Regions from separate parts of the Homo sapiens genome. Here all the other regions are linked to region 1. Evidence: promoter capture Hi-C in human tissues and cell types (Jung and others, 2019). All regions are on one chromosome and are shown on one strand. The core of a region is centred on a gene start or on the middle of the fragment in contact, and the rest is flanking DNA. Distances in the headings are between cores, read along the strand shown.

The links. Contacts are between HindIII fragments. The study calls those that stand out against the background at their distance.
Region 2: a fragment that was not itself captured here is called in contact with the fragment with the promoter of ALOX12B in region 1 in 2 of the 25 tissues and cell types used here (lymphoblastoid cells and spleen).
Region 3: a fragment that was not itself captured here is called in contact with the fragment with the promoter of ALOX12B in region 1 in 1 of the 25 tissues and cell types used here (lymphoblastoid cells).
Region 4: the fragment with the promoter of ODF4 here is called in contact with the fragment with the promoter of ALOX12B in region 1 in 2 of the 25 tissues and cell types used here (lymphoblastoid cells and small bowel).

What each region holds. Positions count from the first base shown.
Region 1 is chr17:8,086,440-8,093,508 of GRCh38, reverse strand. ALOX12B (arachidonate 12-lipoxygenase, 12R type) reads left to right here and starts at 5,793. Exons shown (of 15, transcript NM_001139.3): 1 at 5,793-6,213. The coding sequence starts at 6,067. MIR4314 (microRNA 4314) reads right to left here and starts at 5,453; the gene lies at 5,362-5,453. RefSeq lists an enhancer at 6,017-6,765. The HindIII fragment of the contact is 32,393 bases long and covers 1-7,069 here.
Region 2 is chr17:8,319,084-8,325,796 of GRCh38, reverse strand. ARHGEF15 (Rho guanine nucleotide exchange factor 15) reads right to left here. Exons shown (of 16, transcript NM_173728.4): 13 at 6,638-6,713; 14 at 6,403-6,485; 15 at 6,194-6,298; 16 at 3,286-4,955. The coding sequence ends at 4,804. Among named protein-coding and RNA genes, the nearest start is that of ARHGEF15, 12 kb to the right of the region's middle. The HindIII fragment of the contact is 6,503 bases long and covers 2,212-6,713 here.
Region 3 is chr17:7,936,472-7,943,792 of GRCh38, reverse strand. CNTROB (centrobin, centriole duplication and spindle assembly protein) reads right to left here. Exons shown (of 19, transcript NM_053051.5): 5 at 7,311-7,321; 6 at 6,976-7,092; 7 at 6,531-6,629; 8 at 4,044-4,280; 9 at 3,551-3,697; 10 at 269-402. Among named protein-coding and RNA genes, the nearest start is that of CNTROB, 7.9 kb to the right of the region's middle. The HindIII fragment of the contact is 4,478 bases long and covers 1,185-5,662 here.
Region 4 is chr17:8,337,419-8,343,939 of GRCh38, reverse strand. ODF4 (outer dense fiber of sperm tails 4) reads right to left here and starts at 4,100. Exons shown (of 3, transcript NM_153007.5): 1 at 3,435-4,100. The coding sequence starts at 3,888. LOC124903916 (a long non-coding RNA gene) reads right to left here and starts at 5,883. Exons shown (of 2, transcript XR_007065607.1): 1 at 5,649-5,883; 2 at 5,182-5,517. The HindIII fragment of the contact is 12,554 bases long and covers 1-6,521 here.

The DNA.
Region 1 (7,069 bases), core at 4,544-7,043:
AAGTGACAGCTGCCAGTATTATTGTTGGGTGCGCAGTGCAGGCCCCTTTGACCCTGGGGTTGGAAGCAGCAGTGAAAAGGGCATGGGCATGCTCAGGCACCCTGTCCCCCAAGAGGATGAACACTCCTTGGGCCTCCACAAAGGCAGCATTAGTAGGCATGCCTATCCTGAAAAATGCCCCTGAGCCGGAGAGGGAGGGACCAGGGCGGGTCATTGGAATCTGGTTTTCCAGAAAGGCAGCTTGGAAAGAGATTTATTGGGCAGACACACCTGGTACACTTAGGATGTCCTGCCCTGACTCTGGGGACAGGACATGGGGAGGAGGCTCACATCAAGTTTCTGGAGCCCTGTGAGGTCAGGAGCTCCCCTCAGCTTACACTCTGCCCTCCACTGTTTTTTGGTCAGTCTAAAAGGTCAACTGGTATAATGGGAAGCACACCAGCCTCCTTCCCCAGCTGATCTTGAGCAAGTCCCTCGGCCTCAGTGGTCCCAACCTGTCAGATACATGAGTGGGACGAGAAGACCTGAAAAGCCCTTTCCAGCGTTGACATCCTAGCATCGCTTTGCTTCGTGGCTCTTGTCTGCCTAGATGCTGTTCTAGATTTTGGGAGAGCAGCTGTGAGCTCCCCAGGCACAACCCCTTCTTTCACCCTTCTTATGGGTGCTGGAGAGACAGACAATAAACGCATCAATAAACAGATAAAGATCCTTTTGGGCGGTGGCAAGTGCAGTTGGAGATACAACCAGGTGGCAGGGTAGCATGATGGAGGGCGGAGGGCGGGGAAACATGAGGGACGGTGGTCAGGGAGGGACTCTGAGGAGGTGACACTAGAGTTGAGACCTGGATGACATGAACAACACACGCTTAGGGTCGGGTGCGGTGGCTCACTCCTGTAATCCCAGCACTTTGGGAGGCTGAGACAGGCAAATCGCTTGAGCTCAGGAGTTTGAGACCAGTCCCGGCCACGTGGCAAAATCCCATCTCTACCAAAAGATACAAAAAATTAGCCAGGTGGACTACGCCTGTGGTCCCAGCTACTCGGGAGACCAAGGTGGGAGGATCGCTTGAGCCTGAGAGGTGGAGGTTGCAGTGAGCTGAGATTGCACCACTGCACTCCAGCCTAGGTGACAGAGTGAGACACCGTCTCAAAACAAACAAACAAACAAACAAACAAACAAAACCACTCTTGAAACAGCTTGAACAGCTTGGTTGAAACAGCTTGAACAGCTTGGGGGAAGGGTATTACAAACCCAGGAATGGCAAATGCAAGGGTCCTGAAGGACACATGTTCTGGGTACAGCAAGAAGGCCAGAGTGGCTGGAAAAAGGTGTCGGGAAGGCATGGTCTTGTAGACATGATAAGTCCTTGGATTCGTCTCTTTTCTTTCTTTCTTTCTTTCTTTTTTTTTTTTTTTGAGACGGAGTCTCTCTCTATTGCCCAGGCTGGAGTGCAGTGGCGCTATCTTGGCTTACTGCAATCTCCACCTCCCCTGTTCAAGCGATTCTCCCGTCTCAGCCTCCTGAATAGCTGGGATTACAGGCGCGTGCCACAACGCCCGGCTAATTTTTGTATTTTTAGTAGAGACGGGGTTTTACCATGTTGGTCAGGCTGGTCTTGAACTCCCGACCTCATGATCCGCCTGTGTTGGCCTCCCAAAGTGCTGGGATTATGGGCATGAGCCACCGCGCCTGGCCCTTGGATTCATTTCTACGGACAACCCCATTTTAAGCTCTGGTGAACTTTAAGCAGGGGAGTGGCGTGATTTGATTTTTCTTTCTCTGTGTCTTAGGAGAGTGGGTCCCCAGGAGTTAGTTGCTCCTTGCCTTGCAGGGCTTGGGGTGGGGTCAGGCACGGGGGATACCCCAGCAGTGAGAACTCAGCTTCCTGTGTGGATGGCCCCTAGTTAGCAACCCCAGTGAGTGTGAATCCTTCCCAGAAACCTCTCCTCCTCACTGGCTCCCGCCCCTGGTCCAGGAGAACCAGTTCTTCAGCCCAATGAGCACCTATCAAGAGTCACGCGTCTACGTTTTGGTCATAGCTGGGGAGTGCCCCATCTACATCCTCATGCCTGATCCCGTCCCTGTCCCTGCCCCAGCCACATTGACATCCTCAGCATCCCTGCCTCCATCTCCGTCTCCCTCAGGAACCTAATTCCCACTCCACACTGGAGCCCTGAGCAAACCCAGGGCCACCCTGGGATTTGGGTTGGAGGAGACCTATTGGTAGCAGGATATGACTCAGTTTGCCCAGTCCACTGCCCTGCTTCTCACCAAGCCTCAGCAGCCCCCTGGGGACACAGGGCAAAGGGGAGAGATTAGAAAGAGGAAGCTGGGAGAATTTGCATGGAATTTGCATCTTAAGATTTGCATCTTCAGGCTCCCAGCATCCTCCAAGAGTCATCGAGGTGGTTGAGGAGGGAGATCCCAGGGGGGAGATCCAGCTGGACGGCTTCTGTCTGCAGCCCAGGACAGCCAGCCCTGCCACCCAGAGCTGGGCACAACCCTCATCCTCAGCCTTCTCCCCTCTCCTCCCTCCCTCCCCACCCAACCCCTTTCCCTCCCCTACACCACGCCTTGCCCCTTCTCTCACCCTGAGCCCAAGTCAGCTCTCTTCGGATCTTCACCATAACTCCAAAGCCATCATCGATTCAATCCCCAGCCCTGACCTTGTCCTTGTCATTAACCCATTCAACTATGTTTTCGGTGTCTCCCAGGTACCAAGTATGACACCAGGAGATGGGGACAAAACCAAAAAAAAGTATGGACTAATTTATTAGAGAAAACAGACATCAATCAAAGATGTTAGCTATAGTGCTGTGAGAGCCATGTATAGTGAAATTTGGCTTTCCTGGAAAAAGCAATTATTGAGCTAAGATCAGGAGGAAGAGGAAACGTGACCTCAGTTTGAGAGGTAGAGAGGGAACAGCATGTGCCAAGGCCCTGGGATGGTGACGAGCTGACTTCACTTCCTTCAGGTCTTTACTCAAAAGTCTTCTTCCCAAGGAGCCCTCCTTGGCCACTCTGTATCTAAAATATCCTCCTTTTCTTTTTTCTGAGATGGATTTTCGCTTTTGTTGCCCAGGCTTGATAGCAATGGCATGACCTTGGCTCACTGCAACCTCTGCTTCCTGGGTTCAAGCTATTCTCCTGCCTCAGCCCCCGAGTAGCTGGGATTACAGGCATGCGCCACCATGCCCGGCTAATTTTTATTTTTAGTAGAGACGGGGTTACTCCATGTTGGTCAGGCTGGTCCCGAACTCCTGACCTCAGGTGATCCGCCCACCTCAGCCTCCCAAAGTGCTGGGATTACAGGCATGAGCCACCATGCCCGGCACTCCTCTATTTTTTATATTATCCTTCCCTGTTCTCTCTTTTCTCTTCAGCACTTATCACTATTTAACATACTATTTAATGTATTTGGTTACTAGGTAATATTGTCTGCTTCCCTCACTTGAAGGCAAGCTCCATGGGTGCAGGGGTTTGCTTTGATCGCATTGTATTTTCAGGACCTGACACAGCGCTGAACACACAGTAGGGGTTCGGCCAGTGTCTGTTGATGAATGAATGAAAGGCACGTGGTCCCAGACAGAAGAGAGCAAAGGGGAATGTGAGGGGTGAAGCCAATCAGGCAGGCCGTGGGGGCCACGGGAGGGGATGGTGTCACTGTCCCAAAGGTAAAGAGGAGCCACTGCCAGGCTTGATCAGGGTTGGGAGGAGGGAACATAGAGAGTGATGTGAACAGATTTGGGTCTGGAAAAGATCATTTCAATCCCCAACTCCAGCCACATCTGTGTCTCTAACCTAAACCTGAATTGCAGTTTCGACCCCATTCCACATCCAGTCTGGAACCTACTGGAACCTTCTCTTCATCTCACAATCCCAGCCCCCTCTGACCCTAACTTGGCCTGGGCATTGAATGACCTTCCTTCGATGGTGATGGAAGCGTGCCATCAGGGAGGAAAGCAGGGCTATGCTTCCTGGTTGACAGAAGCTGCTCCTCGGAGGTGAAAGGAAAGAGGACAGGTCCAGAAAAAGGGAATAGGAACGTGCCTGCCTCCTCACTCTCCCTGGGTCCCAAATCCTATCTTTGGAGAGTCTATCTCTGACTCTCTCATAATGCTCTTCACCTTACTCCTAACACCTTCTCCCTATCCTGCGGCTCTGACTTCTGTGATTCTATCAGCAACTAGTTCCCAATCCCAACCTCCCACGCTTATTTTCTTCAGAGCACTTAGTATCCAAAATTATAGTGAACAAATTCTTGTTTACTGTTTCTTTCACTTCTTTCCCAGCTATTCCGTAAGCTCCATGTATGTTTCATTTCTTCTCTGCCTCTGCAGTGCCTAGAACGCCGTGCACCGTGCTCACTACATATCTGAGGGAGGAACGACCTGGTTCCCAACAAACACAGTTCCACTGGAGCTCAGCCCTGCCTCCAGCCCTCTTCCTAGCTTCATTCTTTTTTGGGAGGGAAGTGAGGGTATGTACTTTATGAAATTAAAGGATAACACATAATGAAATGAATGAAGTACCCTAGACGCCCCTCAGATCAAGATAAGAACACCTCCAGCAGCCTATATGGCCTCCCTCTGCCAGGGATACTCACCAGTAGAGGTTGTCTGAGAATTGCTCAGTTTTGCTGGTTCTGGAAGTTCCTATCAATGGATAACAGAACGTATCCCCTTTAATGTCTGGCTCTTTTTGCTCAGTATCATCTTTGTGAGACTCATCCGCATTGCAGTTCATTCTTTTTATTCCTGGGTAGAATTCTATTTTATGATTATACCACAAAATATTGATCATATTAATCCATTATTTAACTTAATTCTTTTGTCTTTTTTTTTTGGAGACGGAGTCTTGCTCTGTTGCCCAGGCTGGAGTGCGGTGGCACGATCTCAACTCACTGCAACTTCCGCCTCCTGAGTTCAAGCGATTCTCCTGCCTCAGCCTCCCAAGTAGCTGGGACTACAGGCGCATGCCACCACGCCTGGCTAATTTTTGTATTTTTAGTAGAGACAAGGTTTCACCATGTTGGCCAGGCTGGTCTCGAACTCTTGAGCTCAGGTGACCCACCTGCCTTGGCTTTCTAAAGTGCTGGGATTACAGGCGTGAGCCACCACGCCCAGCTATTTAACTTAATTCTTATGCCCCAGATTTCACTCTGTCTTCTAATTTAGTTTTTTTTTTTTTTTTTTTGGGCTTCTGATTTTATATCCAACTCCAATCCCTCACCAGTGGATCCTGGCCCCACAGGAAGCAACAGATCCCCTTCTCCTACCCTGATCGTTCCTCCCCGCAGCATCTTCAGGCCTTTGGGCACCCATGTGGTCCCCGAGCCCTAGCTTCAACACCTCCCACCCTTCCAGTCACAGACTCTGGGCCCTGGGGCAGAAGGACAGGCCAGCTTTCTCACTGTGGCCACTACCTGTCCCATTTCCCAGAGAGGAATGGCCTGGAGGCTGGCCAGCTGCGCTGCCACTTAGTGCCCCTCCCCCTCCCCTCCCCCGCCCACCAGTGGCCTCAGAACCAATGCAAGTCACTCACTGCCCATGGCCCTGCTTAGTAGGGGTGCCTGGCACTGTAGCCAATGGGGACTGGCAGGAGGAAGGAGCTTATTAGTCTGATAAAGATCTGGGGACCACACCCTGCCCCCTCCCGCAACTTCCCTAGGGCCCTGGCTCAGGCTGGACTGGCTCCCCCACCCTGAAGGCGCCTTCATCCACGGCATCTTCTATCCGCCCTTTCAGAGGCAGGCCCAGTGCCCTGCCTGCTCTTCCTCCCCACCAGCTCCCAGAAGGCTTGGAGCCCAGACACCTGCTCACTCACCACCAGCTGGGCTCCGCCTGGGCCTGCCCGGCACCCACCCCGGCCACCAAGGGCAGCAGCTTTTCCAGAATTTGGCTGGCAGGCCTAGTCACCCCACCTCGCCACCTCACCACTGCACCTCGGAGGCCAGCCCTGTCCACTCCACTCTGTGCCTGGCTTCTCTTGCCTGCCTTGGGCCTTCGTGTGGCCCCTCCACGGTGTCTGGGACTGAGTGCCCCTCTTGCCTCCTGAAGAGCAGCCATGGCCACCTACAAAGTCAGGGTGGCCACAGGCACCGACCTCTTGTCGGGAACACGGGACTCCATCTCACTGACCATTGTGGGGACACAAGGAGAGAGCCATAAGCAGCTGCTGAACCACTTTGGGAGAGACTTTGCAACTGGGGCGGTAAGAGTGTGTGTGTGTGTGTGTGTGTGTGTGTGTCTGTGTGTGTGTGTGTGTGTGTCTGTGTGTGTCTGTGTGTGTCTGTGTGTCTTTGTGGCCCCGGGAGGGGTGAAGGTGCGCAGGGGGAGCCAGGTGAGCTGAGCTTGGCGAGGAGAGGCTGGAGAGCTGAGGCACAGCTCCGAAGGCAGTGGGCTCCCCAGTGGCTCTACACGCCTTGTCCAGAGCTGGCTTCCAGCCCCTCGCCCATGTCCCAGATCTCTGGGCCATCCTTCTCCATCCTGCTCCTTCATCTCTAACCCTTTCAGGCATTCCTCATCTCCCTCCCCATCCTTTTCTTCTCTCTCCCTCTTCCTCAGCCCTCTCTCCCTGTCTCTGCCTATCCTGCATCTCTCTTTTCTCAATCCTTTCCACCTGCTTTCCTTCCCCTTTGCTCTCCTCCCCTTTCTGTCTTACCCCCTCTCCCGCATCCCTCTCTCTTCCATTCTCAGTCACTCTTCCTAATTCAGCTGCCTCCTAACTGTCTCACATTTGCACTGGATTCTCTGTGACTTAAAATGGCATCAGACCAGCCTGTCCAGTGGAAGGCACGCTTTGCGGGTCCTCAGACCTGATTTTCAGTCAGACCCAGCCACCTGCTGCTAGGCGACCTTAATAGGTCACTCTATCTATGTGGCCATTCTGAATATCTGCATCTTCATTGATGAATGGGAGAAGGGGCTGGCTGGGCCTCTCCCCACTCGAAAACTGTAGAGTGGTACCCAAGTCCCCAGGGGTCTGAAGGGTTCCTGCAACCTCAGGTGCCTGGAGAGGGGAGTGGGAGAAGACAGGAGCTGGGGATGGAGAGAAGGAGGGGCTGGAG
Region 2 (6,713 bases), core at 4,214-6,713, 230 kb before region 1:
AGACAGAGTCTCGCTCTTGTCACCCAGGCTGGAGTGCAATCACGCGATCTTGGCTCACTGCAACCACTGTCTCCTGGGTTCAAAGGATCCTCCTGCCTCAGCCTCCCGAGTGGCTGGGATTACAGGCGGGCACCACGACACCCGGCTAATTTTTTGTATTTTTAGTGGAGACGGGGTTTCACCATGTTGGCCAAGCTGGTCTCAAAGTCATGACCTCAGGTGATCCACCTGCCTCGACCTCCCAAAGTGTTGGGATTACAGGCGTGAGCCACCATGCCCGGCCCCCTTGGGCTCAAGTAAACTCTTTCAACCATATTTTGTGCCTCAGCCTCTTCCTTTTAGGTTGACAATTGACTCCCAGAATATGGAGGCTTCAGCTATGAGGAGCAGGGCCACGGGTGAAGAGTGTCCACACTGACTCAGAGAAAGGTCCCCAACTGGGGCCAGCTTTCCCACCCTGTCGCCTCAGGCATCTCCCCCCGGGGACGCCTGCACCTTTCCTGAGCCTGTGGAAATGTTGGTTTCTTCCACCTCCCCAGCATGATAGACTGTGAGGGAATAAGGTGATAGTGGCTCTAGGACTCCCCAGCTGACTCAGTGAACCTCTCTGTACTACCCCCACCAGCATGCCTGGAACGCAGACAGGGCACCGCTGAGAGGTTTCTCCCATGGGCCCTCCTACGCCACCTATGAGGAAGTTGCAGGAGGCAACCCAGAGGGGCAGGAAGAACACAGAAGGGAGGGGACACTGGACACCCATAGCAGAGATGCCTGAGGGAGAGGGAGGGAGACAATTTGGAATGAGCTGAGTTACCTCCTGCCACCTGTCCTGCAACACCCCCCATCAGCCTCCCTCTTCTGTCCTCTTTACCCCATCCCCATTCCCATCTTCTGTCTATCCACGCTCTCCTTGCTGTAGTCCTCATTCCCCCACATCCGTTCCTTTCCCATATAGCTGTGTTTCATGCCCTTCGGCCCCCTTAGACAGGCCAGCAGAATGCAGACCCCTCCAGGACAAACACACTCAGGTCACCCCAAAATGGAAAGCAGGCTCTGAGATAACAGAATCCAACCCCCAAAAGTCAGGAAACATGGCAGTCCCCTCCCTTCCTGTCTTCTCAGTCTCTTTTGGAACATATGGTTGTATTTTATACACCTTTATGTCCCAAAATAACCCTTACCTGGTCGGCATCTCCCCATTATCCCACCATCAGAACATCTGAATTGGAGCATGGGGGCTTCCTTAGTGGCAGGACTCCAGTAAGGGATGAGGAGCCAGGAGAGAAGGTGTATGGGGCACGTCTGCCCCCGGATGTCTGTCTGTCTGAGTATCCCAGTGTGTCTCCATCTTATGCCAAAGAGGGAGGGAGACCTTGGTGGGGAGGGGCTCCACCTACCAGGACACTTGAAGGGGCACGTGCACCAATTCCCATCCCCACTACCACTACCTTCTGTTCCTGGACTATCGCCCCCTGTTGCCTCCATTCGAATGCTCTTTCCCCAGATCTTCCCAGGGCTACTTCCTCTGGAAGTCATCTGGGTCTCAGTTCAAATGTCATCTCTTCCAGGATCTGCCCTAAAGCCACCACCCTCCCCCAAAACATACACACACAACATTCTATGCCACAGCCCTTGCTGTATTTTCTGCTTACTGCTTACTGATTTTATCTTAGTGCTGTTTTTTTTTGGGGAGGGGAGGGTTTGTTTTGTTTTGTTTTTTGAGATGGAGTTTCACTCTTGTTGCCCAGGCTGGAGTGCAATGGTGCCATCTCGGCTCACTGCAACCTCTGCCTCCCGGGTTCAAGCGATTCTCCTGCCTCAGCCTCCCGAGTAGCTGGGATTACAGGCATGCGCCACCATGCCCGGCTAATTTTGTATTTTTAGTAGAGACGGGGTTTCTCCATATTGGTCAGGCTGGTCTCAAACTCCCAACCTCAGGTGATCCACCCGCCTTGGCCTCCCAAAGCGCTGGGATTACAGGCATGAGCCACTGCACCCGGCCCCTGTTTTGTTTTTATGAGATGGAATCTCGCCCTGTCGCCCAGGCTGGAGTGCAATGGCGCTATCTCGGCTCACTGCAACCTCCTGCAACTTCTGCCTCCCAGGTTCAAAGGATTTTCCTGCCTCAGCCTCCCGAGTAGCTGGGACTTACAGGCATGTACCACCATGCCCAGCTAATTTTTGTATTTTTAGTAGAGACAGTGTTTCACCATGTTGGCCAGGCTGGTCTCGAATTCCTGACCTCAGGTGATCCACCCGCCTCGGCCTCTCAAAGTGCTGAGATTACAGGCATGAGCCACTGCACCCGGCCTAATTTTTGTATTTTTAGTAGAGACAGGGTTTAGCCATGTTGGCCAGGCCGGTCTTGAACTCCTGACCTCAAGAGATCCGCCCACCTCAGCCTCCCAAAGTGCTGGGATTACAGGGGTGAGCCACCATGCCTGGCCTGATCTTATCTTACTTATTAATTTGTTGACATGGTAATTGTCCCTGTCACCTCTCACCCTCAGGATGAAGGCTTCCTGAGGGCAAGGACTTTGTCTTTTTCATATCTGTATCCCCAGATCCTAGAACAATGCCTGGCACATAGAAGGCACTCAATAAATAGGTATAATTGAATTAAACACAGAGATGATTGGCTGGTCAGTAAAGGGCCTTTATCGCTGCCCTTTTTTTTTTTTTTTTTTTTTTTTGAGACAAGGTCTTGCTTTGTCACCCAAGCTGGAGTGCGGTGATGCGAACATGGCACGTTGCAGCCTCGACCTCCCAGGGTGAAGCTATCCTCTTGCCTCAGCCTCCCGAGGAACTGGGACTATAGGCGCATGCCACTACACCTGGGTAATTTTGTATTTTTTGTAGAGACAGGGTTTCATTATGCTGCCCAGGCTGGTCTCAAACTCCTGAGCTCAAGTGATCTGCCCACCTCGGCCTCCCAAAGTGCTGGGATTACAGGTGCAAGCCACCGTGCCCGGCCCTGACTGCCCTTTTTATCCTTCTTGCTGCATTCTCATCCCCTGCCAAAGCCCCAGGCATTGCCCAGCCTGCAGCAGCCCCCAACCACAGCTGTTGCAAACCCACCACCATCGCCACAACCACCACCACCTGAGATCCCTCAGGAACTGTGAGTGGGCTAACACACTCAGGTCTAGCACATGACCTTCAAGCCCCAGTTCCCAACAGAATTGACCCCTGCTCTGGACCCCTTTCCAAGCAGCCCCATCCCCTTATAAACCATGCTTGGAGACCACTGCTCCTATAAGCACACACTTCCTCAGAGAGCCTCAATACAAATGCACCACTATTTACTGAGGGTTCCCCACACGTCAGGCACCCTGCTAGGGGAGTCTCCAATGTCATGGACATGCCAAATGCCAGTGCTCTTCGCCCTCTGAGTCTCCCGGAGTCCCTGTGCCTCCTGCAGTCAGGGTGACAGTGTCAGTCCTGGGCAAGTTGCTGTGCCTGAGCTGAAGGGGAGGCCTCGTCCCGGGCCTGGGCCCCCCTGCCAGCCACTGTCTGCCTTGCTGTCTCTGTCCCTCGCCTCCTCTGGTATCATGCGAGGCACTGGCTCATCTGGAAGCAGATGCTCTGGATGGGGTTGGGCAGCCACACCCGCTCTCCAATCTCTCCCCACTGTTTGGCCCAGTGTTTCTGTGAGAGGATCAGGACAAAGGCAAGAAAGCCCAGGAGGTTCACTGGCTGGCCTGTGGTCCACAGCTCCCGTTTCTTCACCCAGATGCAGGATCTAATGTGGTTCCAAAGCTCAAGGCTGAGGCTGGCTGGTGGATTATAGTTCAAGTTGGGAGATCTGCAGGCAGGAATTATGGAGGCCAGTGTTTGGGGCAAGGAGAAGGGTCTGCAGACTTCAGGGGCCTCAGGACCCAGCTACTGGCCATCTTCAGTCCCTTGGGCTCCTCTGCCAGGCCGTTGGCTGCTCCATAACATTGCCCTGCAACTGCCACAGAACCCTAGCCTCCAAGAGACCCAAAGCTCAGGGCTCTCATCCCCTGGGTGCCAAGCCACACCCAGCACAGTCTCTTCTGGAGCTCAGACTTAGCATCTTTCTTGGAGCGAATAATAGGAAAAATGGGGGGTAAAGGAAGAAATGGAGCACTCAGTCATTTGTGGGTCAGGAGCACAATCACCACACACACACCACAGTCAGCAGAATGCCTTTCCTGATACATATACACACATATCTACACATGCACATGTACACACACAGATTTTCTGAGACACATACTCTGAATTCTTCTGGAAGAGAAGAACTGGCTTGAGAGGGCACAGGAAGCATCCAGGAATGGAAACTAGTATTTCCCAGACTCAAAAGACAGGACCAGTCATTGCTGCAGAAACAAGCAGGGTGACTACTGGTCTCTTGGGTCCAGATCACCATTTTCTTTGGCTGATTGGCTTCCTGCTCATTCCTGTTCCCAATTTTATCCTACGACTTTATCTCCAATGAGGCCCTTTTTCAACTGCCATGACCTAGATTTGTCTTCCTTGGCCCTGAGCATAGCAGGAATACTCATTGGCCATAGGCTCAGCCAGCTCAGTACCCATTGGCTGCTCTGCACTAAGCCTCTGTCTCCATTGGCCACACATTCAAGGCATCCTCATTCATTCTTATTGCTGTGGGTTCAGGCGGCCGTTTTCATTGGCTGCTCTGTCCTGAAGCTCGATCTCTATGGTTGCCACGAGAGGTAGTATCTCCACTGACAGTGAATCCAATGGATGAATGGGCTTTGTTCTCTCCGTGCCACACTGGTAGGTGTCTCCCAACATGTGCCCCCTCCTCAGCCTGCATTAGGGTGGGGGGGCATTGGGGGTGCCTGAAGAAGATCCAACAGCCTCGAGAAGCCTCTGGTTCTGGCGAAGGTGCCTCCTCCTTTCGTGTTCCCCTGTGACTTCACACACCAGCTGGGCAGGGAAGGCCCCAGGAAGCCCCTTCAGCCAACCTGGGGGAAGAGAGACAGAGGCTCCAATGAGGTGGGGGCAGGGAGCAGGTGAGGAGGCAAAGGGGGCCTCGTGGGGTCTCAGGCCTTCAGGGTCATTGTAGGTGTGGGAATTCATGGACAAGCCTGGAGCATCGGTAGAAAGGGCATCAGAAGTGGAGGTGACAGCAGCTCGGAGAGAGTCTGGGCTGCTCTTCCGTCAAGCCCTGCAGTGGCTGCTCATGTCTCTTGGAGTAAGAGGTGGAGTCCTTGCAGAGACCTGTCAGGTCCTGCGTGATCCCATCCCTGCCACTTCTATGACCTCATTTGCTTCTCCCCCTTTCTCTCTCCTGCTAGTCACACTGGCCTCCTTACAGTTCCTCAGTCACACACCAGCCGCAGGGCCTTTGCACTGCCTGCTGCCTCCAGCTGGGACACTCTTCCCCCAGACACCATGGGCCTAAATTAGCTCCATCAAGCTTCATGTTGCCTTCTCAGTGAGGTCCACCTCGGCCTCCCTATTGAAAATTTCAGTCTGCCCAACCCTGGAACTCCTGACCTTCTTTGCTCTGCTCACTTTTTTTTTTTTCCATAACACTCATAACCTTCACATGTACTTTATAATTTACTTATCTATTTTGCTCATTCTTTATCGTCTGCCTCCTCTGCTAGAACGTAGCTCCAGCAAGGAAGGAAGTGTGATATATTTGATTCACAGTCCCTAGAACAGCGAGTGGCACTTTGTAGGTGCTTAATAAATATTTATTGAATGAATAAATGAAACACGGCCAGGCGCAGTGGCTCACGCCTGTAATCCCAGCACTTTGGGAGCCTGAGGCAGGAGGATCACTTGAGCTCGGGAGTTCAAGACCAGCCTGAGCAACATAGTGAGACCCCCCACCTCCATTAAAAAAAAAAAAGAATAGAAATAAGGCCTGGCACCAGAGGCTCATGCCTGTAATCCCAGCACTTTGGGAGGTGAAAGGGGACGGATCACCTGAGGTTAGTTCGAGACCAGCCTGGCCAACATGGTGAAACCCCATCTCTACTAAAAATACAAAAATTAGCCAGACGTGGTGGTGGGCACCTGTAATCTCAGCTACTTGGGAGGTTGAGGCAGGAGAATCCCTTGAACCCAGGAGGCAGAGGTTGCAGTGAGCCGAGCTCACACCACTGCACTCTAGCCTGGCTGACAGAATGAGACTCTGTCTCAAAAAATAATAATAATAAATACAAAATAAATAAATGAAAGACTTTCTCACCTTCAGGGGTCTTGTGCAGGTGTTTGGGGGCAGCCCTGGACTCCAGACTCCGTCCTTCAGTCTTGGCAGGTGCAGACGACTCTGAACACAGTTCCTGGGAACAGTCTGGTTGGGGGTGGGTGACATTAAAGTGATTCTGTTTAGCTTCTCCCCCATATTCCTCTAAGACTCGCTTTTTCTTCCCTCATCCCCTCTAGGGGGATACTCACCACAGTCCTCATAGATGGTGTCTGGGGAGCAGGGAAGGGGGCCTGGGGTTGGGAAGGCTCCCAGCCAGCGCTGCATGTCTGATCTGGTGGGGATATTGGGAAGTGTCACAGTTGGCCCAAAAGATCCTCTGGGGCTGAGGCAGGAGCCACAGAAGAGAGAGACTGGGGAAGTGGGGGAGGTCTGAGAGGTCAGATAAGTGTCCCAAGGTTGTTTTCTGAGGGAAACACAACTCACAGGGAAGAAGCTTGGAGTAGTCGGTGGGTGGGGCGGCCCTGGTGGTTGCTGAGAAGGGAGAGGCGGAAGGTAGGGG
Region 3 (7,321 bases), core at 2,174-4,673, 150 kb after region 1:
GGGAGCTGGACCATCTATCATTCTGCACCCATCAGTTCTTGGTTAAGGGCTACTCCCTATGGGATGAAAATTCCCAGGCACTTCTGGCTCTCCATGAACGCGTGAAGGCAGCCCTCCCGAGAGAGACTCAGGTCCCAGCTGATGGGAGTTAGCGCACCCTGGGAGTCACAGTGCTGGACCATGGCAAAGGGATTGAAGGGAACACAGGCCTGGCACTAACGATACGTGCTGTGGCTGAGAGAAGTGACACCCAGTGAGTCCCACGTACCTGTGATGTTCCCTGAGGGAGGCTGCTTGCCGTAGGCTGCTCTCCTGAGCCTGCGCCAGCCGCTCTGTCACCCGCTGCTCCAGCTGCACAGCCAGCTCCGACTCCAGCTGGATCCGCTGGCTTTCATACCGGGCCTGGAGTGAAGGAAGGTGGGATAACGGCCCAAATCTGTTTGGGCTTAGAAGAGGATGGAGGATATAATGTAGACAAAATCCAGTACCAACTTTCCCCTCATATGAGATGAAGAACAAGAATTTTGCCTCAAGGAGTGAAAGAGGTTCCCTTTCCTTATTAAGATATTCGCACTTTAAACATACATCAAAGTGAAAATGACTATGGGTGAAAGACATAAATTTCTTAGCTAAAATAAATGTTCGACAGAGCAATCAAATCCATTCTACGTGTCTGATATAACATACCCTGAGGCTGGGCGCGGTGGCTCACGCCTGTAATCCTAGCACTTTGGGAGGCCGAGACGGGCGGATCACGAGGTCAGGAGATCGAGACCATCTTGGCTAACACGGTGAAACCCCGTTTCTACTAAAAATACAAAAAATTAGCCGGGCGTGTTGGCGGGCGCCTGTAGTCCCAGCTACTTGGGAGGCTGAGGCAGGAGAATGGCATGAACCTGGGAGGCGGAGCTTGCAGTGAGCCGAGATCGCGCCACTGCACTCCAACCTGGGAGACACAGCGAGACTCCGTCTCAAAAAAAAAAAAAAAAAAAAAAAAAAAAAAAATACCCTGAGTAGAGTACCTGAAAGCCAGTAGACATTCAATAAATGGCAGTGCCTCTTCCTCCTTAAGCAGTCAACCTATAAGTGTCTCCATTTTCTCAGCCACAGTCCTTCAACTCACTAAAATCTGATTTCCACGTATAGTATTTTACTATAAAGAACTCAACCTCTTTTTTTTTTTTTTTTTTTTTTTTGAGATGGAGTCCCTCTCTGTCACCCAGGCTGGAGTGCAGTGGCGCGATCTCGGCTCACTGCAACCTCTGCCTCCCGGGTTCAAGCAATTCTCCTGCATCAGCCTCCCAAGTAGCTGCAACTACAGGTGCGTGCCACCACGCCCAGCTAATTTTTTGTATTTTTAGTAGAGACGGGGTTTCACCGTGTTAGCCAGGATGGTCTCAATCTCCTGACCTCGTGATCCACCCGCCTCAGTCTCCCAAAGAGATTACAGGTGTGAGCCACCGCGCATGGCCCAAAGAACTCAATTTCTAAATCCAAATAGTGGTTATTTCTCAGCCCCTACTTCTGAGACAGAGTCTTGTTCTGTTGCTTAGCCTAAAGTGCAGTGGTGTGATCATGGCTCACTGCAGTCTTGACCTCCCAGACTCAAGAGATCCTCCCACCTCAGCCTCCAGAGTAGCTGGGACTACAAGCTGGTGCCACAACACCCAGCTAATATTTTTATTTTTTGTAGAGATGGGGTCTCATTATGTTGCCCAGACTGGTCTCAAACTCTTGGACTCAAGCAATCCTCCCACTTCAGCCTCCCAAAGTGCTGGGATTACAGGCGTGAGCCACCACACCTGGCCCTTTCTGTCTTTTTTTTTTTTGAGACTCGGTCTCGCTCCTGTCACCCAGGCTGGAGTGCAGTGGTGTGATCACGGGTCACTGCAGCCTCTACTTCCAGGGTTCAGTTGATCCTCCCACCTCAGCCTCCCGAGTAGCTGGGACTACAGGTGCATGCCACTATACCCGGCTAAGTTTTTGTATTTTTAGCAGAGTTTAGGTACTGCCATATTGCGCCCAGGTTGGTCTTGAACTCCTGGGCTCAAGCAATCTGCCCGTTTCGGCCTCCCAAAGTGCTGGGATTCCAGGTGCGAGCCACCACACCCGGATGCTTTCTTAGTCTTTATCGCATGTGATCTCATTGTAACACCTGAAGCCCTAGGTCAATTCTTTTTTTTTTTTTTTTTTTGAGATGGAGTCTCACTCTGTTGCCCAGGCTGGAGTACACTGGTTCAATCTGGGCTCACTGCAACCTCCACCTCCCGGGTTCAAGCGATTCTCCTGCCTCGGCCTTCTTAGTAGCCGGGACTACAGGTGTGCACCATACACCTGGATAATTTTTGTATTTTTAGTAGAGACAGGGTTTCACCATGTTGGCCGGGCTGGTCTCAAACTCCTGGGCTCAAGTGATCCACCCGCCTTGGCCTCCCACAGTGCTGGGATTACAGGCATGAGCCACCATACCGGGCCAAAGGATTGTGGTTCTCAAATGCTGGCCTCACTGGTACCTCCTTAAGTTAACCATTTATAAGGAACATAGCCTCTCAGACTGGCTTGCACCTGGAAAATTCATCAATTTGTCCTTACACATTTTATACATAAAAACAGAGGCCCATAAAGGTCAAAATTCTAGCTAGAAGTAGACGTAAGTGCCCTAAGTCCTAATGCAATACTCTTTCCTCTTCAACGCTGTGTCTCCCCCATGGGCTGGAACACAGCTCTCTCCAATCCTTTCCTCTATTCTGGAGATCGGCGAACTACAGCCCAATTCAGCCCTCCATTGCCTGTTTAGATAAGTTGTACTAGAACACAGCTGTGCCCATTTGTTTACGTACAGTTTATAGCTACTTCTGTGGTATAACAGCAGAGTTGGGTAGTTGCAACTGAGACCATACAACCCACAAAGCTAAAAATATTTACTGTCTGGCCCTTTACAGAAAAAGTTCGCCAACTCCTGCTCTATTCCATGGCAAGAGTCCGACTAGTTTGAATTTAAAATTCAGTGTGTTAGCTAGATGGAAAGAGTTTTTCAAAGTGTAATTATATCTGACAAACAATTTTTGAGTACAATTCTGTGCCAGGCCATGTGCTGTTATGGAAGTTTCATAAGTAAATTAAAAAATCATTGCCCTCCTGGGTCCCTGACCTACTCAGAGAAATTAATACAAGTTATTCAAGTAATGAGAATTACAAAGCACACTGTTACAATTGGAATCAAGTCTCTGACAAAAGCTTTCACCTGCTCTGTCAACCCACTAAGTGTGGTGTCATCTCTTAAAATAACATAAGGTATCTTTAATAGATTTAAATCTATTTAATCCTAAAAGTAACACTAGGTCAGTCTGACATATTGTGGGAAATGGTCACTCAGTAAGAAATAGCTCTGAGTTTAGGACAGAAAACTACCCATACTACATAGAAACTGTTAATGGAATTAAACCCCAAACACCTGAACTGGGAGTGTCTGCCACAACTCCTGAGAGGTCCCTCTGCCTCAGATCTACTTCTGTCAGAACAAAACCTCAAGAAACCTCTGCCTTCTGACCTGCACCAAGCTCATTTCCAGCTGCAGGGCATCTCTCTCTCTCCGAGCTGTATCCAGCTCTCCTTCCAGCCGCCGCACCTCAGACTGCACCAATGCCAACTGGTGCTGGGTCTCCCAGGCGGCCTGGGCTTCCCTCTGGCTCTTCTCCTATGAAAGACAAATCAAATGTATATACATACCTCATTTCTTATCTCCTGGTTACCTACACTCCCCAGTTCATCCTCCCAAACCCTAAAATCCAAGCTTCCCCCAGCTCCTCCCATTTGTTTTATTTCCCCATCCCTGTTGAATTTCAGTCTTTGGCCTTTCACGTATTCATTACCCCCAGCCCTTCCTGCTGGCCCTATACTCTCAACCTTGTCTCCCACACATGGCTCTCTACTCTCCATTCCTGCCTATATGTATCCCCCATATTCTAACATTCCATCCCATTCAATTATTTTGCCCTTCATCTACTCCCTAGTTCCTCAGCTCTTCCAACTGCCACTTTTACCTTCTCCCTTTCCAGCTGAGCCTGGCTCTCCTCCTGCAGCGCCTGGTAGTGTTCCTTAAGCTGGTGCTCTTGCTGGGCCCAGGTCTGCCGTTCTTCTTCTAGGGCAGCCCGAAGAGTCTCCAACTCTCGATGCTCACTCAGTTGCCCAGCCCGAGCTGCATCCCGCTCTTCCTGCAGGACACAGCACCGCTGCTGTTCTGCCTCCAACCTCAGAGTCAGAGCTTGCCTTTCCTCCTCCTACAGCCGCAGAAGAAAACCAAGCTCCTTAGTAGGCTCTTCAGAGACCAGCGATCTGCCCTCTGACCCTCATACAAGGTGCCTGCTGAGAATTATGCTCATTAAAAACACAATAATTAGGCCGGGTGCGGTGGCTCACACCTGTAATCCCAGCATTTTGGGAGGCCAAGGCAGGCAGATTACCTGAGGTCAGGAGTTTGAGACCAGCCTGGTCCAACATGGTGAAACCCCATCTCTACTAAAAATACAAAAATTAGCCAGGCGTGGTGGTGGGTGCCTGTAATTCCAGCTACTTGGGAGGCAAAGGCAGGAGAATCGCTCTAACCTGGGAGGTGGAGGTTGCAGTGAGCTGGGATCACACAACTGCACTCCAGCCTAGGCGACATCGAGCAAGACTCCATCTCAAATAAAACCAAAAGAAACCCCACAATAGTTGACAGGCGCAGTGGCTCATGCCTGTAATCCCAGCACTTTGGGAGGCTGAGGCAGGCAGATCATCTGAGGTCAGGAGTTTGGGACCAGCCTGGCCAACATGGTGAAACCATGTCTCTACTAAAAATATAAAAATTAGCTGGGCATGGTGGTGCACACCTGTATTCCCAGCTACTCAGGAGGCTGAGGCAGGAGAATTGCTTGAACCTGGGAGGCGGAGGTTGCAGTGAGCCAAGATTGTGCCACTGAACCCTAGCCTGGGCAACAGAGCGAGACTCCATCTCAAAACAAACAAACACAATAGTTGACAAGCTCATAGGATTATAATATAGTAGATAAGAGTTCCTGTTCCAGAGCCAGGTAGACCTGGGTTCAAATCTCAGGTTCGAATCCTGGTTCTGGAATTTACTATGTGTTCTTAGGCATACATTCTTATCTGTAAACTGGAGATCATAACAGGGTCTGCCTTCTGAGCATTAAAGTAAAAAGCATATGTAAGGCATTTAGCACGGCATCAGGCACATAGTAAGTACTCAATACACAATAGTTACCACCATCATCGTCAAAAGAAATTCCACTAAGACTAGAATATCCAGCCTATAATCGTGAACCATCACCCATCATCATCAGGACTGTCAGATATAGCCTGTTAAGACTACAAGTACCAGCATGCATGTAGCAAGCATGCATTATGCATGCAACAAGTTCCAATCCCAGCTACTAATTCATATGGCTAATCACCTTATCATTTCAGCTCTAAGAGACTTGAGTGAAGTGGCTGGGTATGGTGGCTTATGCCTGTAATCCCAGCACTTTGGGAGGCCAAGGCGGGCAGATCACTTGAGGTCAGGAGTTTGAGACCAGCCTGGCCAACATGGCGAAACCCCGTCTCTACCAAAAAAATACAAAAATTAGCTAGGCGTGGTGGTATACGCCTGTAGTCCCAGCTACTTGGGAGGCTAAGGTGGGAGAATCGCTAGAATCCAGGGGGCAGAGGCTGCAGTGAGCTGAGATTGTGCCACTGCACTCCAGCCTGGACAACAGAGCGCGACCCTGTCTCAAAAAAAAAAAAAAAAAAACACGAAAAGAAACTTGAGTTAGTCAATTTCATACCTTTTTTGGCCATGCCCTACACCAGAGGTCCCAAACCAGATTGAAAAAAATCACCCAGGAAATTTCTGAAAAGATTTGAGTTCCACCATATATCTACTGAATCAAAACCTCTGCAGGTGAGTCCCAGAAATCTTTATTTTATTTTATTTTTTATTTTTATTTTTTGAGATGGAGTCTCACTCTGTCACCCAGGCTGGAGTGCAGTGGCTTGATCTCAGCTCACTGCAACCTCTGCCTGCTGGGTTCAAGCAATTCTCCTGCCTCAGCCTCCCAAGTCGCTGGGACTACAGGCATGCACCACCATGTCCAGCTAGTTTTTTGTATTTTTAGTAGAGACGGGGTTTCACCATGCTGGCCAGGCTGGTCTCAAACTCCTGACCTCATGATCTGCCTGCCTTGGCCTCCCAAAGTGCTGGGATTACAGGGGTGAGCCACCGTGCCTAGCCTATATTTTAAAATAATTCTTCAGATGACACTAATATTCTAATGATGATACAATTTGCAGAGTTTCTCAAACCGACTTGGTAGCAGAGCCTTTTTTTTTAATAGAATATCTAGCTGAATTAGTGTTCTAAGGAACACACTTTGGGAAACAGTGCTCTGGTGCAACTCAAATTATAATCTCCCACAATCCACCAATAGCCCACAGCTCTCTAGAAGTAATTAACAGCTTCCAGTGGAATTAACCCAGTCCAATCTTCTCACCAGTGTCTCTCTTTCCCGTTGCTGCAGTCTGGCACTTTCCTGCTCACGATTCAGGGCCTCCATGGCCTCAGAAAGGCTTTGTTCCAGGCGGGTTACTGTCTTTCAGGAAGAGAGGAATACAGGGCAGAGGAACTGTGGGAAATCTGTGTGTGCTATATTTTATAAAGCATTGACAATGTAAACTTGAAACTTCACAGTTAACTAAATGACTAAGGGGCCAGATAGAAGACTACATGGTGTGGGAAAAATTAAGACATTGATGATTCAAGTTGGACAGCAGAAACGGTTAAAGGAGAAGAAAGGAGGGATGAGAAGAAATGTCAGGACAGCCACTACAAGACTGAGGTCAATCTGTTGGAAACCCTAATTCCAGAGCTATTTCTGCCCCTTTCCATCTTGAGATCTGTGACTCAGGTTCTAATGCCATATGCTCCAGGGCGCTCACCTCCTGCTGCTTGCTTCTGGTGAGCTCTGCTGCCTGGTGTTCCTCTTGAAGTCCCCTGAGAACCTCTGTCCGCTCAGCCTCATGCCGGTTCCAGCCCTCCACCACACGGGCCAGGGTCTTAGGTAGGGCAAGTAAGATGAAATTTCAAAATAACTTTTTTGCCTCTTTCTACCCACAGGGGCAGGGTCAACAGCCATCTTCTCCCAACAGTCAGCAAACCAACCCCTTGCCCAGCTCTCAGCATGTACCAAGAAACATTGGTTGGCCACCCACTTATTTATTATTCCTTAATGCTCTTCATGGAGAGACCCACCCACATTTTGCTACCCTGGTACCTTGTCCAGTT
Region 4 (6,521 bases), core at 2,851-5,350, 250 kb before region 1:
GCATGCGCCTGTAATCCCAGCTGCTGGGAAGCTGAGACAAGAGAATCGCTTGATCCCAGGAAGCTGAGGTTGCAGTCTATATATATATAGACACACACACACACACACACACACACACACACACTTGGCTGGGTGCGGTGGCTCACACCTGTAATCCCAGCACTTTGGGAGGCCGAGGTGGGCAGATCACGAGGTCAGGAGATCGAGACCATCCTGACCAACATGGTGAAACCCCATCTCTACATACATATATATAAACTGTCAAATTAGCAAAGATCAAAATAAGATTGATAACACCTAGTATAGGAGAGTATGTAGAGAAAAGAGGTCCTCTCATACGCTCCTGGTGGGCAGCATTTGTGGTGAATGATCTGGTACAAAAGATCCAGAAAATCTACATTCTTTGACCCTACAATGCTTCTTCTTGGAATTTATGTTAAGGAATAATCAGAGATCTGCAGCAAAATCTCAGTACAGGAATCTTCTTTGCAGAGATATTAATATGTCGGCTGGGTGTGCTGGCTCACGCCTATAATCCCAGTACTTTGAGAGGCTGAGGTGGGCGGATCACTTGAGGTCAGGAGTTTGAAACCAGCCTGGCCAACATGGTAAAAACCCCGTCTCTACTAAAAATACAAAAATTAGCCAGGTGTAGTGGCACCTGTCTGTAGTCTCAGCTACTGGGGAAACTGAGGTGGAAGGATCACTTGAGCCCAGGAAGCAGGGGTTGCACTGAGCCGAGATCATGCCACTGCACACCAACCTGGGCAACAGAGCAAGACTCCATCTCAAAAAAAAAAAAAAATGTCCAATAAGCTCCTTGATTTAGAAGAGATTTGTAAAATAAATTATACTATCCCCATACATTGTGTTATTGTGTGTTCATTTAAAATGGTGATAGGTGATAGACTGGGCACAATGGCTCACACCGGTAATCCCAACACTTTGGGAGGTGGAGGCAGGAGAATCACTTGAGCCCAGGAGTTGGAGACCAGCCTGGGCAACAGAGGGAGACCCTGGTCTCTACAAATTAAAAAAAAAAAAGTAGCCAGGCATGGTGGCATCTGTGGTGCCAGCTACTTGGGAGCTTCAAGGTGGGAGGATCACTTGGGCCCAGCAGTTTGAGGCTGCAGTGCAATAAACTACAATCACACCACTGCAGTCCATCCTGGGTGACGGAGTGAGACACTGTCTCAAAATAAAAATAAAAATAGATGCTTGTCTCTGAATAGAGTGTCTCTGGAAAGAAACAGGAGAAACTAGGGAGGGAGACTGGATACTAAGAGATAACAGACTCACTTCAGTATACAATCTTTTGTATTCTTTGAATTTTCACTGTTTATACACACCTAATCCTAATTAAATAAATTTTAAAAATCAGTGATGTTTGGCCGGATGCGGTGGCTCACGCCTGTAATCCGTGAGCCGAGGCACTTTGGGAGGCCGAGGCAGGCGGATCATCTGAGGTCAGGAGTTCAAAACCAGCCTGGCCAACATGGTGAAACTCCGTCTCTACTAAAAATACAAAAATTAGCTGGGCATGGTGGTGGGCGCCTGTAATCCCATCTACTTGGGAGGCTGAGGCAGGATAATCGCTTGAAACCGGGAGGCAGAGGTTGCAGTGACCTGAGACCGCAACTGCATTCCAGCCTGGGCAACAAAGCAAGACTCTGTCTCAAATAAATAAATAAATAAAAATAAAAAGCCTGGCTGTCTTTGAGTAACTCCGTAGAGCAAGGCGCCTATGTGAGTTTTAGAGCCAGGCACACCTGAGTTGCAATTCCAACCCTGCCATTATTAGGTTGATCCATGTGAAATTCTCCTTTTGTAGGTGAAAAGCAGTCAAATATTAGCATGTCATTTGGTTCAATCTAAATAGCTTTATGACCCTGAGCAAGGTACTTAATCTCTCTGAGTCCCAATTTTCTCATCTCTAAAATAGGGATAATTATCCCTATCCCTTAGGATTGACTAAGGACTAAATTGAACAAATGGAGTAAGTGTACAATAAAGGATAGCTTTTGTTTCCCCAAATTTATTATAATAAGGACATAATATTTTCATAATGCTTTCATAATTCATTATATGAATATTTTCATATTCATATGATAAGGACATAATACTTTCAGAAAATAATAGCTGTGTGATTTTTTTCATGCTAAGGAGAGTGAAAAAATGGAAATAAGGGTCAAAAGCTCTGGTTTTCCCCAGGAGCAGGGAAAGAACTCCAAATTCCTGAGGGGTGAGGGAACAGCATAACCAGAGACTAACAACAATAAGAACCAGGTGTGGTGGCCACGGCCTGTAGTCTGAGCTTCTCCGGAAGTTAAAGCAGGAGGATCCCTTGAGCCTGGAAGTTCGAGGCTGCAGTGAGCTATGATTGCACCACTGTACTCCAGCCTGGGTGACAGAGTGAGACCTTGTCTCTAAAAAAATCAGCGAAACAAACAGAAAAAAACAAGGATGAGGAATGAAGCAGCTGCAAGAATTCAGGGAAAGAAGGAACACAGAAGCCAGATGTGGAAAAAGGAAAATGATCCAGAAAAGCAAGGCCTGAGGCAGAAGGAAAGGAGAATGTGTGGGATCAGGGCCTGAGAGGGGACATTGCAAGGAGTCCTCTCAAAGCTCTGGGTACACAAGACTAAGGAAACCCCCATCTCACTGGGGCTCTTGTCCCTGGTAAATTAGGCGATTAATGAATGATTCTCTTGTGCTGAGTCCATGCCCCTCGTAACTTTTTTTTTTTTTTGAGACAGAGTTTTACTCTTGTTGCCCAGGCTGGAGTGCAATGGTGCGGTCTCGGCTCACCGCAACCTCCACCTCCCGGGTTCAAGCAATTCTCCTGCCTCAGTCTCCAGAGTAGCTGGGATTACGGGCATGTGCCACCACGCCTGGCTAATTTTTTGTATTTTTAGTAGAGACGGGGTTTCACTATGTTAGCCAGGATGGTCTCGATCTCCCAACCTTAGGTGATCTGCCTGCTTTGGCCTCCCAAAGTGCTGGGATTACAGGTGTGAGACGCAGTGCCCAGCCTGATTTTTTTTTTTTTTTTTTTGAGACAGGAGTCTCACTAAATTGCCCAGGCTGGACTCAAATTCTTGGGCCCAAGCAATCCTCCCACCTCAGCCTCCTGGATAGCTGAGACTACAGGTGTGCAGCACCATGCCCAACTCTCTCACAGCATTCTTAGAAGCACAGATTTGGCTCTGGGTTTTATCAAAAGCAGTGACATTTTCCATTGCACCAATCAAATCTATTTAGCCAGGCTACAGGATGAGAAACGATCATCGGAGGTCTCAGTGCCAGTGGAACCATCTTGCAGGCCAAAAAGTAAAGATGACCAGAAAGAGGGAACAAGAATACATCCAGGGTGCAGATACAGAGGCCAAGACAGGCTGGCGGCCTGGGCTGGGATGGGGGGTGGAGGGGCTCACCTTTCCCATTCTCTAAGTCAGAACAGCTCCTGGATTTGTAAAAGTGCAGGAGCCCCATGGACATAACGTGGGCTGATGTGTGGATTCTGTTGCTGACATCCACGGGCCAGCGCTGGTAGAAGAGGCTCCTAGAGAGGTCCAGCCATTTCTTGGAGAAGGCCACGACCAATAGTAGGATAAAGGCAACCAGGCTGAGCTCAGAGGCCAACACCTGGGCCATCCAGCGGAAGCTGTGTGTGATTCTCCATTGAAAGGGCAGCGGAGAGTTCTGGCGCTGGCCCAAGGACCTGTTACTACTGAGGGAGAGGGTGGAGGACAGCAGTCTCCCATCTTGTCCCAGCTCACCTGTGCCCCATCCTGCCTCCCCACTCTTCCTTTCCTTTCCAGGTCTCTGATGTTGGTCTCTTTCTCCTTCTGACCTGGGGAACTCATTCCCAGAGTACTCTGCATCCATCTTGAGCACCACTTCACCCTCTGTCTCCCCTTTCCCTCACCAGACTCAATTGTCTCTTCTCATCTTTTGGATATTTTCATCAGCTGCCACCATGCAGCCTGAGGTCTGAGAAAGAATGAGGAAGTCTAATAACAGACCTCGATCAAATAAGAGACTCTTGATCCAAGAGAAGGCCCCAACCCATTCAGCAGGCCAGGTCCCCTAACTGCCACGGAATTTTCCTGGGGCACAGTGAGATGGGGGAGGGAAGCCAAGTCTTCAGCAATTTTTTTTTTTTTTTTTTTTTTTTTTAGAGAGAGAGACAGGGTCTCCCTCTATTGCCCAGGCTGGGATGCAGTGGCACAACCTTGGCTCACTGCAACCTTGAACTCCTGGGTTCAAGTGATCCTCCCACCTCAGCCTCCTGAGTAGCTGGGATTACAGGATTGTGCCAGCATGCCTGGCTAATTTTTCAATTGTTTGTAGAGATGGGGTCTTGATATGTTACCCAGCCTGGTCTCAAACTCCTGGCCTCTGCCAGGCACGGTGGCTCACGCCTGTAATCACTGCACTTTGGGAGGCCGAGGTGGGTGGATCACCTGAGGTCGGGAGTTCGAGACCATCTTGACCAACATGGAGAAACCCCATCTCTACTAAAAATACAAAATTAGCTGGGCGTGGTAGCACATGCCTGTAGTCCCAGCTACTCAGGAGGCTGAGGCAGGAGAATTGCTTGAACCTGGGAGGCGGAGGTTGCGGTGAGCCGAGATCGCACCATTGCACTCCAGCCTGGGCAACAAGAGTGAAACTCAGCCTCAAAAAAAAAAAAAAAAAACTCCTGGCCTCATGAGATCCTCCCCACTTGGCCTCCCAAAGCACTGGGATTACAGGTGTGAGCCACCTTGCCTGGCCTGTGGCTCCAGCTCTAACTCTTTCCGGAAATCCTGTTTCTCAGGCCACAGCTCAGAACTGTGGATCTGACACCTCCCTCCAGCTTCTGCCTCCCTTTACATATGAGCAATGGTATGTGAGAGGCCCTCCTGTGGTCTGCATATGGTTAATTTGTCTTCACCAAACCTCATGCTGAAATTTGCTCCCCAGTGTGGTGGTGATGGGAGGTGAGAGGGCCTAGTGGGTGGTGTTTGGGTCATGGGGGCAGATGCCTTGTGATTGGATTAACGCCTTCCCTGAGACCTCACTCCATTAGCTCCCCGCAATAGCTGGTTGTTAAAAAGAACCTGGCGCTGTTACCAAGCAAAAGTGCTCGCTGCCAGATGTGCATAGAAGCCAATACTCCAATACTAGGGCACTAGGTTTTGAGAAAAGGAAAGCTTTATTGTGAGCTGACCCACGAGGATACGGGAATCCAGCTCAAATCTGTCTCTCTTTGCTGGTCTTAAGGCAGTACTTTTATTAGAAAAGGTTTAGGGGGAGGATTCTGGGATTAGCGGGTGATTGGTGGAAAGAAAGGAGAAGTCTAGAAAGTCCTTAATCATGTCTGGTTATCTCCAAGGTTCTTCGTGGGTTGCATGTGCAAATTTGGTGGCGTTAGTATGAAACAGCAGGTGGAAATTCAGGCTGTGACATCAGCAAGCTCGTTCTGTGCGGATTGCTGTCAGCCATACGGGTTCCCACTGATTTCAGCCAGTCCTGTTATAAGCAAAGGGATTTTTCAGCATTTCAGCAAGCTGTTTCTTAGCTGCCATCCTGTAAACTCGAAAATGTCTGTTAATCACTGGTTTATTTAACTGTTTGGGGCACAGTTTCAGCTCCTCCCTTACCTTGTGATCTCTGCACAAGCCAGCTCCCCCTTGCCTCCACCATAAGTGAAAGCAGCCTGACGTCCTCAACAGATGCCCAATCTTGAGCTTTCTGGCCATCAGAATTGTGAGCCAAATAGCCCTTTTTTCTTTATAAATTATTCACCCTCAGGTATTCTGTTATAGCAACACAAAATGGACTAGGACAGTCCCCTTTTCTCTTCCTAGTTCCTCTGCCCTAACCCCAACCCCAAATGCTCACTGATGGAGCAGGGGGAGGGAGCAGGAGCTTATCCCCAGGAAAAGATCCTCCCTCCATTGTTCTTTGGACATGTCTTGCAAAGATGTCATCGAGCTTCCCATTGCTTTCCCCAACCCTTCACCTCCCTCCCAGCTCTACTCACTGCTAGTCAATCACCACCAGTTCCTTCCCTCTTCTTTTGACTTTTCTTTTTCCTTTCTTTTTTTTCTCAGCACCAGAAAGAGGAGGATGTAGGATGAGAATGGGTCCTAGAGGTGTCATGCCTTCTGAGATTGTTATAATTTTATTTATTTATGTATTTATTTATTGAGACAGTCTTCCTTCATCACTCAGGCCAGAAGGAGTCTCTGTCTAAAAAAAAAGAACATAGGCTTTGGGGTCCAACAGGCAAAGGTATGAAAAATGGGTCTTCCCCGCCTTTTTTTTTTTTTTTTTTTGAGATGGGATTTCACTCTTGTTGCCCAGGCTAGAGTGCAATGGCGCCATCTTGGTCAGCTAACTGCAACTTCCGCCTCCTGGGTTCAAGCAATTCTCCTGCCTCAGCCTCCCAAGTAGCTGGGATTACAGGAATGAGCCACCACGCCCAGCTAATGTTTTGTATTTTGTAGAGACAGGATTTCACCATGTCAGTC